5 separate regions of the Homo sapiens genome follow, and regions 1, 2, 3 and 4 are each linked to region 5. Evidence: promoter capture Hi-C in 16 types of primary human blood cells and fetal thymus (Javierre and others, 2016). All regions are on one chromosome and are shown on one strand. Each heading gives the region's core, a stretch centred on a gene start or on the middle of the fragment in contact. The rest is flanking DNA. Distances are from core to core; before and after follow the strand shown.

Region 1 (2,963 bases), core at 393-2,892, 1.8 Mb after region 5:
CAGGCATGCGCCACCACGCCCGGCTAATTTTGTATTTTTAGTAGAGACGGGGGGTTTCATCATGTTGGTCAGGCTGGTCTCAAAATCCCGACCTCAGGTGATCCACCTGCCTCGGCCTCCCAAAGTGCTAGGATTACAGGCATGAGCCAACGCGCCCGACCCACTTTTGTTCTTTAAAATGTTTTTGATAGAGTGTATTGTTTCTATGGTTTAAAAAACTGAAATGCATATGTAGCAAAGTTTTTTGGTTTTGTGGGTTTTTTTGTTTTTTCTCTATTAAGTAAAACCCAGTAGGGGCCAGGATGTGGTGAAAAGAGAATTGCACACTGCACTGGGGGGGGTGTCAACTGGTATGACCAGCACGGAGGGCATGCCGGCTGCAGGATGAACAAAACCCCAACTCACTGCACACACCCAGCACTCTGCTTCTGAGAATTCCTCTTCAAGGTATGTTACAGAAAGAGACGCAAAGATCCATGAACAAGCACACTCATCACTGCATGATTTCGTAAAGATGATAAACCTCATGAGAAACCCAAGTATCCAATTCAGGGCTTTCCTCAGGGCTCTGATAGGTAAATTACATTTTGTGCCTGTGATGGGTACAAGAAAAACACGAAAATAATCATGTTTCTGAGGAATCTTTAAGGATATGGAGGAATACGCTGATATTCAATGTTAAAAACCAGACTAGGAAACTGTATATATATATAATAATCCTAGTTTATCTTATAAAAACTAATATTGTCACCGGACACGGTGGCTCATGCCTGTAATCCCAGCACTTTGGGAGGCTGAGGCAGGCAGATCACCTGAGGTCAGGAGTTCGAGACAAAAACCAACATGGAAAAATCCCCTCTCTACTAAAAATACGAAATTAGCCAGGCGTGGTGGCACATGCCTGTAATCCCAGCTGCTCAGGAGGCTGATGCAAGAGAATCGCTTGAACCCAGGAGGCAGCGGTTGTGGAGAGCTAAGATCGTGCCATTGCACTCCAGCCTGGGCAACAAAAGCAAAACTCCATCTCAAAAAAAAAAAAAAGAAAAACTAATATTTACTGAGAACTTACCATATGCATAGCACTGTGCAAAGAAACTTATGCATATCATCTGCATATCTATTCCTACACACATCGTTTATATCTATGACCCTTTAAGGCAGGGAAAATTATGACTCCCATTTTACAGATAAGGAAGCTTAACTTAAGAAAGACTAAGTAATGCACAGAAGGTCACCCAGCTGTGCTCTTTCCCACTATCTGATCCGACTTTTCTGCAGACAAAAAAAGACTTGGAGGGAAGCCCACGGAGAGTGGTGGTTTATTCTGGCAGGATTAGGAAGGACCTTAATTCTCCTTTTTGTGGGTCTTATTCCAAATTGTGTACAGGACTCTAGCTACTCTCGTGTGTGTGTGTGTGTGTGTGTGTGTATGTGTGTTTTCTGATTACCAAAGTCATGTTGCTTATTAAAAACTCATTATTTTTCAGATTAAAAACTATAATACTGACAACTAAACATTTACGGGTTTGCTGTGTATAGCTCCAAATTTATGTATATTAAAATTATATATATATATATATATATATATTTTTTTTTTTTTTTTTTTTTTTTTTTGAGACGGAGTCTCACTCTGTCGCCCAGGCTGGAGTGCAGTGGCGCAATCTCGGCTCACTGCAAGCTCCGCCTCCCGGGTTCACGCCATTCTCCTACCTCAGCCTCCCGAGTAGCTGGGACTACAGGCGCCCGCCACCATGCCTGGCTAATTTTTTTGTATTTTTAGTAGAGATGGGATTTCACCGTGTTAGCCAGGATGGTCTTGATCTCCTGACCTCGTGATCCGCCCGCCTCGGCCTCCCAAAGTGCTGGGATTACAGGCGTGAGCCACCGCACCCGGCCGGTTATTTTTATTTTCTTCCGTTTTTTAGGAACCTAGAGACGCGTGCCCATTTGATAAGGGCTTCGTCTTCCGGTTTGACCCCCCACCTTCGGCCTTCACTGACTCTCCTCCTCGCAACACACTGCACTGTCTTCCTGACACCCTCCACGCACTCACCGCCAACCCAGCCCTTTCTTGTTGCTTCCCATCCCTCAAGCTTCTGCCTCACTTACTTCCCCTCTGCTGGGCCTGTGCGATTCTCACAGGCTGGGCAGGGTAGGTAGACCGCAATTTTTTTTTCTGGCCAGTCCGAATCCTCCCTTCCTCTGAAAAACCATCTCCCCACCCACCACACTGCCTCATTGCGGGGGCGAGGGCTACTTCCGTGTTGTCACGTGACCCCACCCTCCGTGCCAGAGACTGAAGACAAGCCGGGCCTGTGGGAGACCCCCTCCTGCCTGGGCCTCACTGATTGGTCCAAGGATTACTATCTGGGCCAAACGGGGCCAGTCAGAGCCCTCCCCTGGGATTATTGATGCCAAAGCCTCCAATGGTGAGTTCGGGTTCAGGCAGCAGCAGATGATGCCGGGAAATGTGAAACTAGATGGTATCCTGAGCTTGGTGGAGAGGGTTGGTCTGGGAGCCGAACCTACATGCACAGAAAGCCAAGGGCCAGGGATACGGTCCTGGCAGCGTTAAGGGCCAGGGATACGGTCCTGGCAGCGTTTATGTTCCAGGTTTCAACTAACTTTAAGGCCCACCCAGCTGTATTTCTTCTCCAATTTGGCTCCATGATGTACACATTTTCCTGTCTGCCTTAACTCTTAGGAAGTGGGTTTTTATCATTTGCCACTAAGAGAGGCGACAAGAGGGTAGTGGTTAAGCACGTAGGCTCTGGACCCAGCTGCCTTGGTTTGAACCCCAGTTGTTCCTCTTATCGGCAATGTGACCTTGGATAAGTCAGTCTTGCTAGGTCCCAAATCCATCCTGCAAGATGATATCAGTGGCTTTTGAGAATGGAATGAGTTAACACATATCAGATGCTGGCTCAGTGCATGGTAGCTCTAGTGAAAGAACCAGGCCCCCA
Region 2 (3,159 bases), core at 315-2,814, 1.9 Mb after region 5:
AAATAGCTGATATCACAGACCTCAGGACAGTGAGAAAACATTAGCCACCCCTCCTTAACTCCAGCTCCCCAACCCAACTCTGCAGATGAGGAAGCTGAGTCCACCAAGGCGAATGCAGAGACCAGGGTCCCATCTGTGACACTTGTCTCATCTGTGACACAGGTGTGCCTCAAGAAGAGTAAATGAGAACACAAGAGCAAAGAGCCTAGAGGGGCCTGTTCCTGGGGCACCCCTAACCTCAGGTCTGGGAGCCACTGGAGCTGCTGGGAAATTGACCCTGGGGCTGGGGAGCAGTGGGGGACTTGGCCAGCATCCATTCCCCCTTGTGGATTCAAAACTCTAGTTGCTTTTGGACACTGCCTCTCCCTCGCTCTGAGTCCAAGGGATTCATAGCGGGTTGACCTCACCCTGGGCCGGGGCATACCCCAGGCCCAGCTAATCAGAGGACTGAACCAAGGGCGCCTGAAAATGAAACTTGTCACAGTCATTGGTTCAGAGATGCCTGGGCATGGTCCCAAGGCAGGCCAACAGGGTCGTGCCTGGGTGGCTCTTTAAATTTGTTTTTGGTTGTTTGCTTTTTTTTTTTTTTTTGAGACGGAGTTTCCCTCTTTGTTGCCCAGGCTGGAGTGCAATGGTGCGATCTTGGCTCACTGCAACCTCCACCTCCCGGATTCAAGTGATTCTCCTGCCTCAGCCTCCCGAGTAGCTGGGATTACAGGCATGCGCCACCACGCCCGGCTGTTTTTGTATTTTTAGTGGCGACGGGGTTTCTCCATGTTGGTCAGGCTGGTCTCGAACTCCCGACCTCAAGTGATCCGCCCACCTTGGCCTCCCAAAGCGCAGGGATTACAGGCGTGAGCCACTGCGCTCGGCCAGTTGTTTGCATTTTTGCTGAAGTTATCAGGACAGCAGCTTTTTCTTTCTCTGGCGCTGCTAAATCGGTAGAATGAAAGGCTGAAGGGTCTTGTAGCCCATCTTGCCACTCCTTCAGAGTGGCTGCCGGAGGGTGAGGCCAAGATGGCAGAAGCAGGGCTCACAAATGGAGTGCTACTGGCTCTGTGGAACACCTGGAGACAGCTGTACCTGAAGGCGGACTCTACCCGTAGACTTCTCAGTTACATGAGCCGATAAATTCCCTTTTGGATTCCTGCCATTGGCCACCAAGAAGGAGATGAGTTCCCTCTCTCTGGGGCTGTTCCAGCAAGGAACAGATATCTAGAGGAGTGCCTCACCACACAACACGCGTGTATCAAGGGCCACCTTCATTCCCAAGCCCACCATAATCTATAAGGTGACATTCACTGAGACCTCACCAAAGAGCTGACTGATAATCTAGGATTTGGAGACCTACATGGAAAACACGTAGGACAGAGGCCAACAGCAACTATGGAATTCTTCTGCCAAAAGAATCTTCCTCCAAAAAAGTGGAAAGGATCATTTTACACTTAATAAATTAGCAAAAACATGCAATTGTGACAACCCAGCACTGGAGACGATGTAGTAAAATGGGTGAACGCATTACTGACAAGAATAGAAACTGATTCAATCTTTCAAAGACAACAATTGGAAATAGGTTTTAAAAGCCATGAAAATACCTTTTCAGCCTATTATCCCTCATTCCTGGGAATTTAAGGCCAGGAAATACTTTTAAAAAGACAACAGGCCAGGCACGGTGGCTCGTGCCTGTAATCCCAGCACTTTGAGGGGCTGAGGCGGGCGGATCAGAAAGTCAGAAGTTCGAGGCCAGGCTGACCAACATAGTGAAACCCCGTCTCTACTAAAAATACAAAAATTAGCCAGGCAAGATGGCGCGCACCTGTAGTCCCAGCTACTCGGGAGGCTGGGGCAGAAGAATCACTTGAACCTGGGAGGCAGAGGTTGTGGTGAGCTGAGATCGTGCCACTGCACTCCAGCCTGGGAACAGAGCAAGAATCTGTCTCAAAAAAAAAAAAAGAAAAAAAAGAAAGGCAACAAAAGAAATGTACTAGGATCATGTTCAGTTTATATTAGTCCATAATAATAGAAAAAAGGTGAAATCACTAAAGACAATGGTTAAATTAACTTAATGGGATATTAAGTAACCCTTAAATGATAAACAAGAAGATAATACAGTAATGAGAAAAAATCCTTAAGCCATAATAGTAAATAACAAAATAGGATAATGAAATTGTAACTAGGCTACAATTTTCCTTTGGGAAAACTGCATGTGCCTATGGACAGGGACGAGCTAAAACACAGCATAATGAAGTCAAGCGATTTATAAAGATGATTTTCACCCAGTGACATCTGGCAATTATCCACAGGGGTCCCAGCGAGGGCAGACTGGGACTGGTGCAAATAAGCCTCCCACATAGAGAGAGACCACTTCATCTGAGCTTGCCTTACACGTTCCAGAGACAGACACCCTCGTTCTTTCGGAACCCACATGAGCTGCACTGTCTGATACAGTAGCTACTAGCCGCACGTGGCTATTTAAATTAATAGATATGAAGCAAAAATTTAGTTCCTCAGTTGCATTAGCCACATTTCACGTGCCACCACACTGTGGCTACCGTATTGAACAGAGCAGGTACATACAGAACACTTCGATCACTGTAGAAAGTTCACCCCCAGCCCTCTCTGGCAGAAAATGCCTCTTCGGAGGTAAGGGAGCATCTAAAACTCACTCCACTGTCCCAGACCCAGATTCTGAAACATGGGTTTCTTTTTCTAGGAAGCAAAAGGGGACATGTGCAAGGAATCAGCAGAGGAACCCCACCCAATGATCATTTGCTACGGAAGTCTCCTAGCAACCTGGCTGAGTGGCAGGTGTGAGGGAAGGCTCCCAGCTGACCTGTCGGATGAAAAGCCTGGGTGTGGGTCAGAGCCAAAGGACGGAGCAGTCAGGGCTCAGGGTTCCTATTTCCCTGTCTTTATTCTGGACGGCCGTGCCAGGCATGTATCAAATATGGTTCAGGCCACTGGAACCAAAGCAGGGCTTGGTCTGGGTGTCACACAATGTACAGCTGTGCTGTCCCTGCCTGAACACAGTTAATCTTTGCATGGTGATGAAGGCGGTCAATCGCAGGAAGGGCTGCGACTCTATTTAGGAGAGAGAAAATCTGGCCCCAGAGAAAACCACGGTCACAGCAGAACTGACTATGTGCAGGAAAAGGGCCC
Region 3 (3,122 bases), core at 613-3,112, 1.1 Mb after region 5:
TGAGCCAAGATCATAACACTGCACTCCAGCCTGTATGACAGAGCGGGACTTCGGTTTCAAAAAAAAAAAAAATTAAAATAAAAAATAAAACAGTGGCCGGGTGTGGTGACTCACGCCTGTAATCCCAGCACTTTGGGAGGCCAACATGGCGAAACCCTGTTTCTACTAAATATACAACAATTAGCTGGACGCGGTGGCAGGCACCTGTAATCCCAGCTACTTGGGAGGCTGAGGCACGAGAATTGCTGGAACTCAAGAGGCAGAACTCGTGAGTCAGAGATCTTGCCACTGCACTGCAGCCTGGGCAAGAGAGCGAGACCCCGTTTAAAAAAAAAAAAAATGCTGGCTGGGTGCGGTGGCTCACGCCTGAAATCCCAGCACTTTGGAAGGCAGAGACAGGCGGATCACCCGAGGTCAGGAGTTTGAGCCCAGCCTGGAGAACACAGCGAAACCCCATCCCTCCTAAAATACAAAAATTAGTCGGGCGTGGTGGCATGCACCTGTAGTCCTCGCTACTCGGGAGCCCGGGAGGCGGAGGTTGCATCCAGCGGAGATCACGCCACTGCACTCCAGCCTGGACAACACAGCGAGACTCTGTCTCCACACACACACAAAAAAAGGCATAACAAATTTAAGTGACTCAAAGCTTTATGTGACACAGGAGCTCTCAGAAAGGAACAGTTAAATTATAACATGTCCATATTATGCGTTAGTATGTGTCCACAACTAACCCATAATATGGACATGTTATAATTTAACTGTTCATTCCTCTCTTGATAGACACTGAAATCGTCTCTATAATTTTCCTGTAAGAAATAATGCCTTGGGGTGGGGGTGTCTTCCTTTCTGAGGCTATCATTTGTATTCCTCACTTCTTAAATTTGTTTGATATGTTGAGGCTTAAAAAAAAAAGATTACGGGTCTTCAGAACGCCCCAATGCCCGCGGGGTGCTGGGGTGCCTCGGAGTTTGTCAAGGTGTAGCTTAAAACGTTAATTCCCATGCTCGCTCCCAAATATTCGAATTAAGGCTTCTGTAGTTCTTACAAGTCACCCGCTTTCTTTCAGGAGGAATGTTAAAGATTAAGAGCGGCAAGAAGTCAGAGTCGGCCCACCCTCCGAGCTCTCTTAGGGCGATGTCCTTGCTAATTTGGAGACTGATTCAGTCCCCTTTTGGCCCCCAAGTTACGTAAAGATAAGGACTTTGGAGATGTTTTCTCAGGAAGGACAGAGCTGAAAAACAAAGTTCCGTAAGTCTGGCCGGTAACTACATCTTTCCTTCCTAACAAAGAATAAGCCGCAATTCACTCTCTCTGGCACCTGAACTTTGGGGTAACGATTAACTGCGATCCGAAGCCTTCAGGCAAGTAAAAAATTCCTGAAGTGATTACGCCTGTTTGGAGGCTTGCAGGGCACTAGGGGATGGGGAAAGGTGAATCGAGGTGCTCTCTGGCTCATTCGCAGCCGGCTAACCCGCCATATCTTACACAGCTAAGGGCTGCCGACGCCATTTTGCAGGGTGGGCTGCGCAGACTCTTGGCGGGAGGCCGGCGCGCTTGAGCGGGAGAGGACGTGGAAGGGTTGGAGGTGGGGAGTGCGCGTTACGACTGGAAAGCACGCGTGCGCACAGGCGACAGCAGCGGAGGGGTGGGGCCAGTGTACGAGTGCGCGTGCTCGGTGGGAGCCCGCGGAGTACCTGGAAGGAGGTGGGGGCGAGGTAGAAAGGAGTGGGGTTGAAAAGCGCTTGCGCAGGACGGCTACGGTACGGGGGTGGGAGGGCTTCGGAGCACGCGCGCGGAGGCGGGACTTGGGAAGCGCTCGCGAGATCTTCAGGGTCTATATATAAGCGCGGGGAGCCTGCGTCCTTTCCCTGGTGTGATTCCGTCCTGCGCGGTTGTTCTCTGGAGCAGCGTTCTTTTATCTCCGTCCGCCTTCTCTCCTACCTAAGTGCGTGCCGCCACCCGATGGAAGATTCGATGGACATGGACATGAGCCCCCTGAGGCCCCAGAACTATCTTTTCGGTAACTGCTGGGGGGAGCTGGAGCGAGGCCGAGCGGGGCCTGGTGGCGGTGAGGGTGGGGGTGAGGGGCGGGAATCCGGCTGCAACCGGGTCTGGTGGAGACCGCCAGACCGACGGGAGGCCTGAGCGGGTGGGAAGAGCTGCCTGAGCCCTGGACCTGGAGGGATTGGAGCCGCGGGGGGAGCCGGTGGCGTGAAGGGGGAGGAGACGAGCGGCCTGAAGCGTCTGGGGCGTGAGCGGTCCGAGGCCCGGGGCCTGAGGTAAAGTGGAACCGGCCGCCTGGAAGTTCGGCCTTTGCCGGGGATACGTGGCGGAGCTCCAGGCGTGGTTTATTTTCTAACGGCGGTGGTTCATAGGCTTCTGATGCCAGGCCCCGGGTTGGTGGTCCTGGAGGCTGGGTTCACCGGGAAGCATGGGCCTGCTTGTTGGAGCGGGTAGATGCACAGCCTGGCGTTATTCTGGCCTCAGAGCCTGGAGCTGCCGGACGTAGACTTACCTCGCGTGCTTCGGCCAGTTACTGGGGGTGGGGAGGCGCGGCGCGGCGTGAGGAGGCCGCAACCGCTGGGAGCACGTGGTTGCCACGTGGTTGGGGGAGGGAGGGGGGTGTGGGCGCTACATCCGGGACTCACCGGCGTGTTGCCACTCGTGAGCCAGGGATGCTGTGGCTCTGTTGAAGTGGGAAATGTTAAGAGGCTGGTAGCACTAGGGTTCTGGAGGTCTTTGTTCAGTGCTTACAGCATGTACTGTGATGGCAGCTCTCATTTTTTTGAGCCCCTTTTCTGTCTCACTGCGGTAGGTGGAGCTAGCCCCACTTTGCAGATGAGGATACTGGTGCCCAGAGATAAACTCACTTAACGAAGGTTGTACTTAGTAAAGGCAATAAGAGACTAAATCTAAACCAAGACGCTTGACTCCGTAGCTGCTGCTTCGTGAATATTAATGAGGCTTCGTTTTAGGGGGACGTCCTCGCATGCCGCCATTTGTGCGGCATTGACCAAACTGCTTTTCTAAATACAAGAAACACGTAGAGTGTTCGGTTTGAGTCAGATCAAGACCTAAGACTATTCGCAGAATTTTGGGAGCACCACCCCCCTCGACTTGCG
Region 4 (3,200 bases), core at 87-2,586, 1.9 Mb after region 5:
GGTCCAGCCTCATAGAACGGCAATCCTAGGGTCAGAGTGCCCTACAAGCTACAGGAGCCCCAAGGAGGAGGATAGTGGCTTAGAAGAGAGGTGCTCTCCTGGAGGTATACACCAATTTAACAAGTGGGCGTCTCCCAGTAAAAATTTTCTTAGGGGAAAGGGGGGAGTCAAGCTGTAGGTGTTGGCTCCCTAAAACAACTCACCACCTCAGAATTAGCTCCCAGGAGCAGAAACCAACGTCCTGCTGCCACACTTCTCTAGACTCAATCAGCTCTGCCCCACCCACTCCACAAAAGCTCTCTGCCGCGTCTTCCTCTAGGGGAGAGGTGACTGCAGGCTGGGAGACTCCCCAGCTGTGACTCAGACCGACGGAATCAAATCTGTTCCCCCAGGCTCAGCATTCACCAGATCCTGACCTCCCCCTCTGACCAGCCCCAACCCACCTTTCCAAGCCCCACCTCTCAGTCCATGGGCCACCCCTCGCCCACCCCACTTCCCTGTCTCTGGCTCATCTTCAGATGTGTCCCTAGCTCCCAACCCGTCCAAGCGCAGCCGAGTTTCTCGGTCCACATCGCCTCGATATTCCCACAGCATCTGTGGTCTCTCTTAAAAAAAAAAGTGTGCCCGTATCGCCGTTTTACGGAACGTCCCTGGAAGGTCCCTCGAGTGGCCCTCTCGGATGCTGAGGTCCTGTCAACGCCCCTTTGTCTCCCCGTGCGGCGCCGAGCGCAGTGCAGGACACACAGGAAGTGCTCCGAAACAGGGCTAGGGTGGGGGCGGCAACCGTGCCCGGAGGGGGCGCCCAGAGCGCAGGGACTCGGCCGGGCCGAGTGATGTTCCCCCCAAAAAACAAGAGTCATCGGGATGAGGGCCAGGGACCCCGAATTCAGCGCCGGGCAGCCCTCGGAGCCGGAGCCAGGCTGGCCGGGTCCGGCTCAGGCATCCCTTCCTTCCGGAGCCCCTCGACGCGCGTCCGGCCACCCACCTCAGCGCCCTCACCTTGTAAACCTTGCCGAAGGCGCCGTCGCCCAGCTCGCCCACGATCTCCCACACCTCGTTGGGGTCCAGGTCGCGGCGGACGTGCTCATATTCGCGGGACTTTCTCTTCTCGAAGGTAGACAGGCGCAGGATGCGGCGGAAATTGGCAAAAGCCATGGCCGGGGGCGCGGTGGCGCCGGCTCGGGCTCGGGCTCGGGCTCGGGCTGTGGCTTCGGCGGCCGCGAGGAGAAGGAGGAGGAGTTGGAGGACGCCGCGTCTCTCGGGGTTCTCCCCAGACCCGCCTTTCCCCGCAGCCCGACCTCGGTCAAGTGTGCCCTGGGCAGCGCCGCGCCGGGAGCACCCGGAACCGCGCAGGCGGCGGCGTGCCCGCCCCCGCCCCCGCCCTGTCAGGTCCCCAGGGCCGCCTCCCTTGTGCCGGCCTCGCAGCTCCTGCCCGGCCCAGCCCTGCCTGCGAGAGCCTCGGACCCGTTCCAGGGGACCGTCCCCGCGCCCGCCCACCGGCCCGGCTCCACCCGCCGCTCCCCGGCAGAGCCCCGGGACCCCCTAATTGGCTGCGGGCGCTCCCCGGCTCCGCCCGTCGCCGCAGGGCACTCTGGAAACTGTAGTCCCCCCACACCACGCTCCGCGAGCCGCGGGCTGGGCTTTGGGGAAGCTTCGGGGACCGCTCGGTGGGACCGCTCATGGACTCAGGAGCCCGCCCGCCGCGCCGCGTGGCTCCCAAAACTTTTATGGGAGCAAGCGGGACGGCGACTTGGCATTTCGCGAGAGCCCACGGATCGTTGTCAGCGCCCAGAAGGTGAACCTGCACTCGTTCATTTAATCCTCCCGCAGCTATTCCGCTAGGCTGCCCTCGCCCCCACTTTTCCGATGGGGACGCCGGCAGGCGAGGGCACTCGCCCCAGGCACACACGCTGGCTGCCCGTCTGCTGCGGGTTCCTCGGCGCGGTGCTGCCTCCTAGTGTGCGACGGGCAACGCCGGTGCAGCCGCGGCCAGTCCCTGCAGGGCCCGGCTTCCCGGCGCGGTCCTTTCCAGGGGCTCCCCGTCCACGATCCACAAACCTGCCAGGATTAGAGGGCTGGGAGAAAGAGCTCCTTTGGCACTGATTTCTCTTATGTTTCCTGATGGGTTTGCGGATGTATTTGCATATTAAATAAAAACTTTATTCTAATTTTTAATTTCCTAGTTTCAAAAAAGATGAGCGCACTACATACAGATCAAACTAAAGTCTTCTTTGAGCACCTTCATTCTCGATCCTGGCTACTTGAGTCACTTCACTGCTACTGTTGCCTGTTTGTCCTATAGACGGTTATAACATGCTTTTACCTGAATCTAAGGAGAGTGCTGGGGGTGGGGGGGGGGGGCGGGCAGTCTGCAAGGGTTATTATTTGGACCGTGTCATAAACAAGTTGAGTCTTCGCAAATGTCACAGTTCAATAGCTCCAACCCCAGAGAACGGCTGTGTTGAGGTGTTTTCGCCCCTTCCTCGGTGCTTTGTTCGAAAACATCCTTTGAACAGTGTGCAAACACCAAGCATGGTTTTCCACTGGGAAAGCCAGCTCAAGAAGCCTGCGATGCTGGTAGTGGTCGGCGCAGAGGGTGTCCTGGTTGCTAAGCCGTTCGGAATGTTTCCACAGCTGCAGGAGTGCCTGGAATTGTAGAGGGTCTTTAAAAGAAGGAAACGCCGCTCGTCGCTGACCGTTCTCATTGAGTCAGGCGCTGTCTGAACCTCCCAAAACATGCTGAAAGGCAGGTCTTTCATTTGTTTCAGACCATTTGGCCAACTGTACGAAGCGGGTGGGGAGACCAAGAGGGTTGCTTCCATACTAGGAGATGAAGGCTCTGACTCCACGAAAGCTGTAGGCCTGGAGGGCTCTGACCAGCTCTGAGAGCTCCAGAAAAGCAAGCAAGCGAGAGAAAGAGAGAGAGAAAGGAAAGAGAGAAAGAGAGAAAGAAAGAAAGAGAAAGGGAAAGGAAAGGAAGAAAGAGAGAAAGGAAAGAGAGAAAGAGAGAAAGAAAGAAAGAGAAAGGGAAAGGAAAGGAAGAAAGAGAGAAAGAAAAAGGAAAGGAAGAGAAGGAGAGAGAAAGAGGGAGGGAGGGAGGGAAGGAAGGAAGGGAGGGAGGGAGGAAGGAAGGGAAAGAAAAACGGAGAGGTTCATTCATTCAATAACACTAAGTCAAAGAAGCCAGACACAAAAGGCCC
Region 5 (2,899 bases), core at 231-2,730:
AATATGGCAAAAAACAGGATCTGTGAACTGTACCCCTACCATACCACACCTAGTTCAACATGTTCTCATTTTCTTCTTCAGGTTGGGGGAGAACAGCTGTGACTATAAATGCCTCGGAAATGCATAGACCCCAGGTTTGGCTATACGTCCTAGGGAACCTCGTCTACCCTCTTGAATCTCAATTTCCCCAGGAAAAACACGAAGCTGAATTAGATGACTTCTACCATCTTAGCTTTACAATCTCATCTTTATGACAGTCTGGAATATCAACAGAATCCGATGCCAGCCTGCAGGGATGAGGGTGTTAGAAGCTTAACCGTCTCGCACAAGTCATCTTACCACATGGTCAGGGTAGAGGGACTATAACTAAGTCATGTGGCTTGAGATCTGCCCAAGCAGATGCGTTGTCCCCTTCTGCCAATGACCAAGCACAGGGATCCTTCAACCTTTCCTCTAAGTCCAGAAGATAAGACAGCAACGCTCTGGTCCCAGCACCGCCACAAGCCTCTTTTCCTCTAGGGGCCTCAGTTTTCATAGCTATAAATTGGGGCTCACATCAGTTTTCTGTCCTGCTTCACAAGACTCTCATAAGGCTCCAAGGAGACTGCCCCAGGCGGGAGCTTGAGGACCCCCCTTAGGGTCGTGAGCAGTGAAAGCCCAAATGCTGTGTCTGGCACTGCTCATCATAGTCCTCTATCCAGCCCTCCCACCCTGCCTATTCTTTCTCCTGCCTCCAGGACACCACGTCTCCCCTTTCTAGTAAGTAGCGTTGATCTCATTAGCAGTTACAACAGTTCTCTGCATCTCAGAGCATGGACTTTAAAACCAGATAGGTGTGGCTTGAGTCTTGCCTCTATCACATGTAGTCCCTAGGGCTTCGGACCATTTCACTTCCCTGAGCTGATTTTGCAGCTGAGTCAAGGGGATAACAATGCTGACCTCACAACATAGTAGGGAGCGCTAAATGGGACAGTGCCTGTGAGACACCGAATTCAAACCCTAGCACATAATAGGCACATACTCATTTGAGGGCTTCTGCTCCCATCCTTCTCTCCGGAACTCATGGTCAGGAAAACTCAGCGGTCTATATGGCGCTCACTCAACCAGTAAAGTTGCCATAGGGTTCCATTGCTATCTTATACACCTCCCACATTCTGCCCCAATTCCATCGTCAAGCCTCAGCTCAGCCCACCAAGGGCACTAGCATCATGACCATTCACACAAGAGCAAGGCTTACCTTCTTGAAATAGTCAGCAAGGCTGTCGGGGTCCCAGCCCAGGACCTCTGAGCGAAAGGGCACATTCCTCAGTGCCATGGCTGCTCTCCCGGGAAGAAGCTCACAAGCTGAGCATGGGCGCTTCACCCATGGGCAGAGAAGCTCAAATCCAGAGCTCGGAGGCGTTCTTGGCTCTTCCAACTCCCAGCTACCCTGTGGAACACCCCTGTTGGAGCCGATGTCTTTTCTGGCGTAGCCAGATCCCAGAAAGCAACGGCTTCCTCTGCGAACAAATATGGTCTCTTCTCAGAAAACGACTCAGCTAGTTTCCTTTACCACTTCCTCTGCTGGGCTCTAAATAAGTAAACAAGGAAGCCCAGCTCTGGAGGCTTGAGATGCAGAGAGAGCCACAGGGTTGGTAATTCCCCACTGGCTCCAGTCACCCCAACCCAGTAGGAGAGGCAATGAAGGGGTCTTAAACTCCAATGTGAGTCTGAGTAATTTTCCTTTAAACTCTGGGCACCCATATGTCTACACTGCATTCTTGCTCAGCTGGGGCTTTGCAGACCAAAATCTATCCTGACGGTTGACCTGAAATACAGACAATTTCCCACATCAGTGAACTGCTGGAGCATGTTTTTTTAATGCTTTCCAACCACTTTCCCCTCCCACCATCAAAGACTGGGATTCTTTCAGCTGCCTCTTTACAGTTGTCATGAGAGGGTCCTCAAGGAGTGAGTGAGTCAGGCACCCAGGGCTGAACAAGGTGCTACACTGTGCAGACAGGGCTCAGTTTCTGATATGACTATTTCTGTGCTATGCAACCTTAGGCAAGGAGTTAAAAGCTGGGAATCTCAGTTTCCAAATCTGTATAATAGGAAAACAGTGATTCTTCATATGCACATAAAACTTAGATGCATTCAACTAGACAAACCTAAAAAGAAAAATTAAAAAGAAAAAAAACTTAACAATTGCTATTGGTAGTGTCATATATTCCATTCACTATTGTTTCCACAATATATTTTATTCACTATTGATTCTGCCATATATTCTAGCCAAAGAGCACATTCCCTGGAGATAGGAGGTGAGAATTTGCTGTTTTCTTAGTTTCAGACATTGTTCATTTCTCATAACTGAACAACTTATTGGCAGAGGGTGAGTCCAGTGTATAAAAGCAACTATATTTGTGCAATAAGGCAACCTCTAAACACAAGTTACTACTTCATCTAATGCCACACACACACACACACACACACACACACACACACGAGTCATCTGTTCCAAGGCTGTTGCCTTTACTAAGTGATGCTATGTTGGTCCTTGAGGTGGTGCCTTCCTGAGGGTTTTCAAGCATAGCTTTGGCCATGCACAGTTTTCTTCTTATACACACTCTGAGGAGCCCCGCCGTCACGGTAATGCACCTGCCTCACAAGCTGGTGGGCAGCTTAAATGAAATACACATTTTGCTCCAGGCCCAGCACTAGCTCATCAATGTGAGCTGGTGTTAGCCTCACCTTAGAAGGTGCTGAGGGCATCAGTGAAGGTAGCCCAGGCCATTTGCTCCTTGCAGGGCCTCACACCTAAGAACTCTTTTCTTTTCTCTCTTTCTTTCTTTCTTTCTTTTTTTTTTTTTTTTTTTATTGAGACGGAGTTTCGCTCTTGTTGCCCGGGCTGGAGTGCAAT

Evidence for each region. Contacts are between HindIII fragments. The CHiCAGO score rates a contact against its expected background, and 5 or more counts as called.
Region 1: a contact is called between a fragment that was not itself captured here and the fragment with the promoter of LCP2 in region 5, in 2 of 17 cell types (non-activated CD4 T cells and total CD8 T cells). The highest score is 8.5, in non-activated CD4 T cells.
Region 2: a contact is called between a fragment that was not itself captured here and the fragment with the promoter of LCP2 in region 5, in 1 of 17 cell types (non-activated CD4 T cells). The highest score is 6.3, in non-activated CD4 T cells.
Region 3: the fragment with the promoter of NPM1 here is called in contact with the fragment with the promoter of LCP2 in region 5 in 2 of 17 cell types (activated CD4 T cells and naive CD4 T cells); the score reaches 8.2 in activated CD4 T cells.
Region 4: the fragment with the promoter of STK10 here is called in contact with the fragment with the promoter of LCP2 in region 5 in 1 of 17 cell types (non-activated CD4 T cells); the score reaches 6.2 in non-activated CD4 T cells.

The regions. Positions count from the first base shown.
Region 1 is chr5:172,112,887-172,115,849 of GRCh38, forward strand. The region is part of intron 4 of STK10 (serine/threonine kinase 10); the gene reads right to left. Among named protein-coding and RNA genes, the nearest start is that of STK10, 74 kb to the right of the region's middle. RefSeq lists enhancers at 1,973-2,282, 2,211-2,711. The HindIII fragment of the contact is 897 bases long and covers 1,195-2,091 here.
Region 2 is chr5:172,165,219-172,168,377 of GRCh38, forward strand. The region is part of intron 1 of STK10 (serine/threonine kinase 10); the gene reads right to left. Among named protein-coding and RNA genes, the nearest start is that of STK10, 21 kb to the right of the region's middle. RefSeq lists an enhancer at 1-258. The HindIII fragment of the contact is 8,822 bases long and covers 1-3,159 here.
Region 3 is chr5:171,385,987-171,389,108 of GRCh38, forward strand. NPM1 (nucleophosmin 1) reads left to right here and starts at 1,863. Exons shown (of 11, transcript NM_002520.7): 1 at 1,863-2,020. The coding sequence starts at 1,963. MIR3912 (microRNA 3912) reads right to left here and starts at 774; the gene lies at 670-774. RefSeq lists silencers at 2,144-2,203, 2,524-2,583. The HindIII fragment of the contact is 7,200 bases long and covers 645-3,122 here.
Region 4 is chr5:172,186,888-172,190,087 of GRCh38, forward strand. It overlaps STK10 (serine/threonine kinase 10), which reads right to left and starts at 1,337. Exons shown (of 19, transcript NM_005990.4): 1 at 1,000-1,337. The coding sequence starts at 1,155. RefSeq lists enhancers at 190-269, 1,322-2,097 and silencers at 730-809, 940-989, 1,290-1,649. The HindIII fragment of the contact is 8,713 bases long and covers 1-1,649 here.
Region 5 is chr5:170,296,297-170,299,195 of GRCh38, forward strand. It overlaps LCP2 (lymphocyte cytosolic protein 2), which reads right to left and starts at 1,481. Exons shown (of 21, transcript NM_005565.5): 1 at 1,238-1,481. The coding sequence starts at 1,315. RefSeq lists an enhancer at 584-663. The HindIII fragment of the contact is 7,744 bases long and covers 310-2,899 here.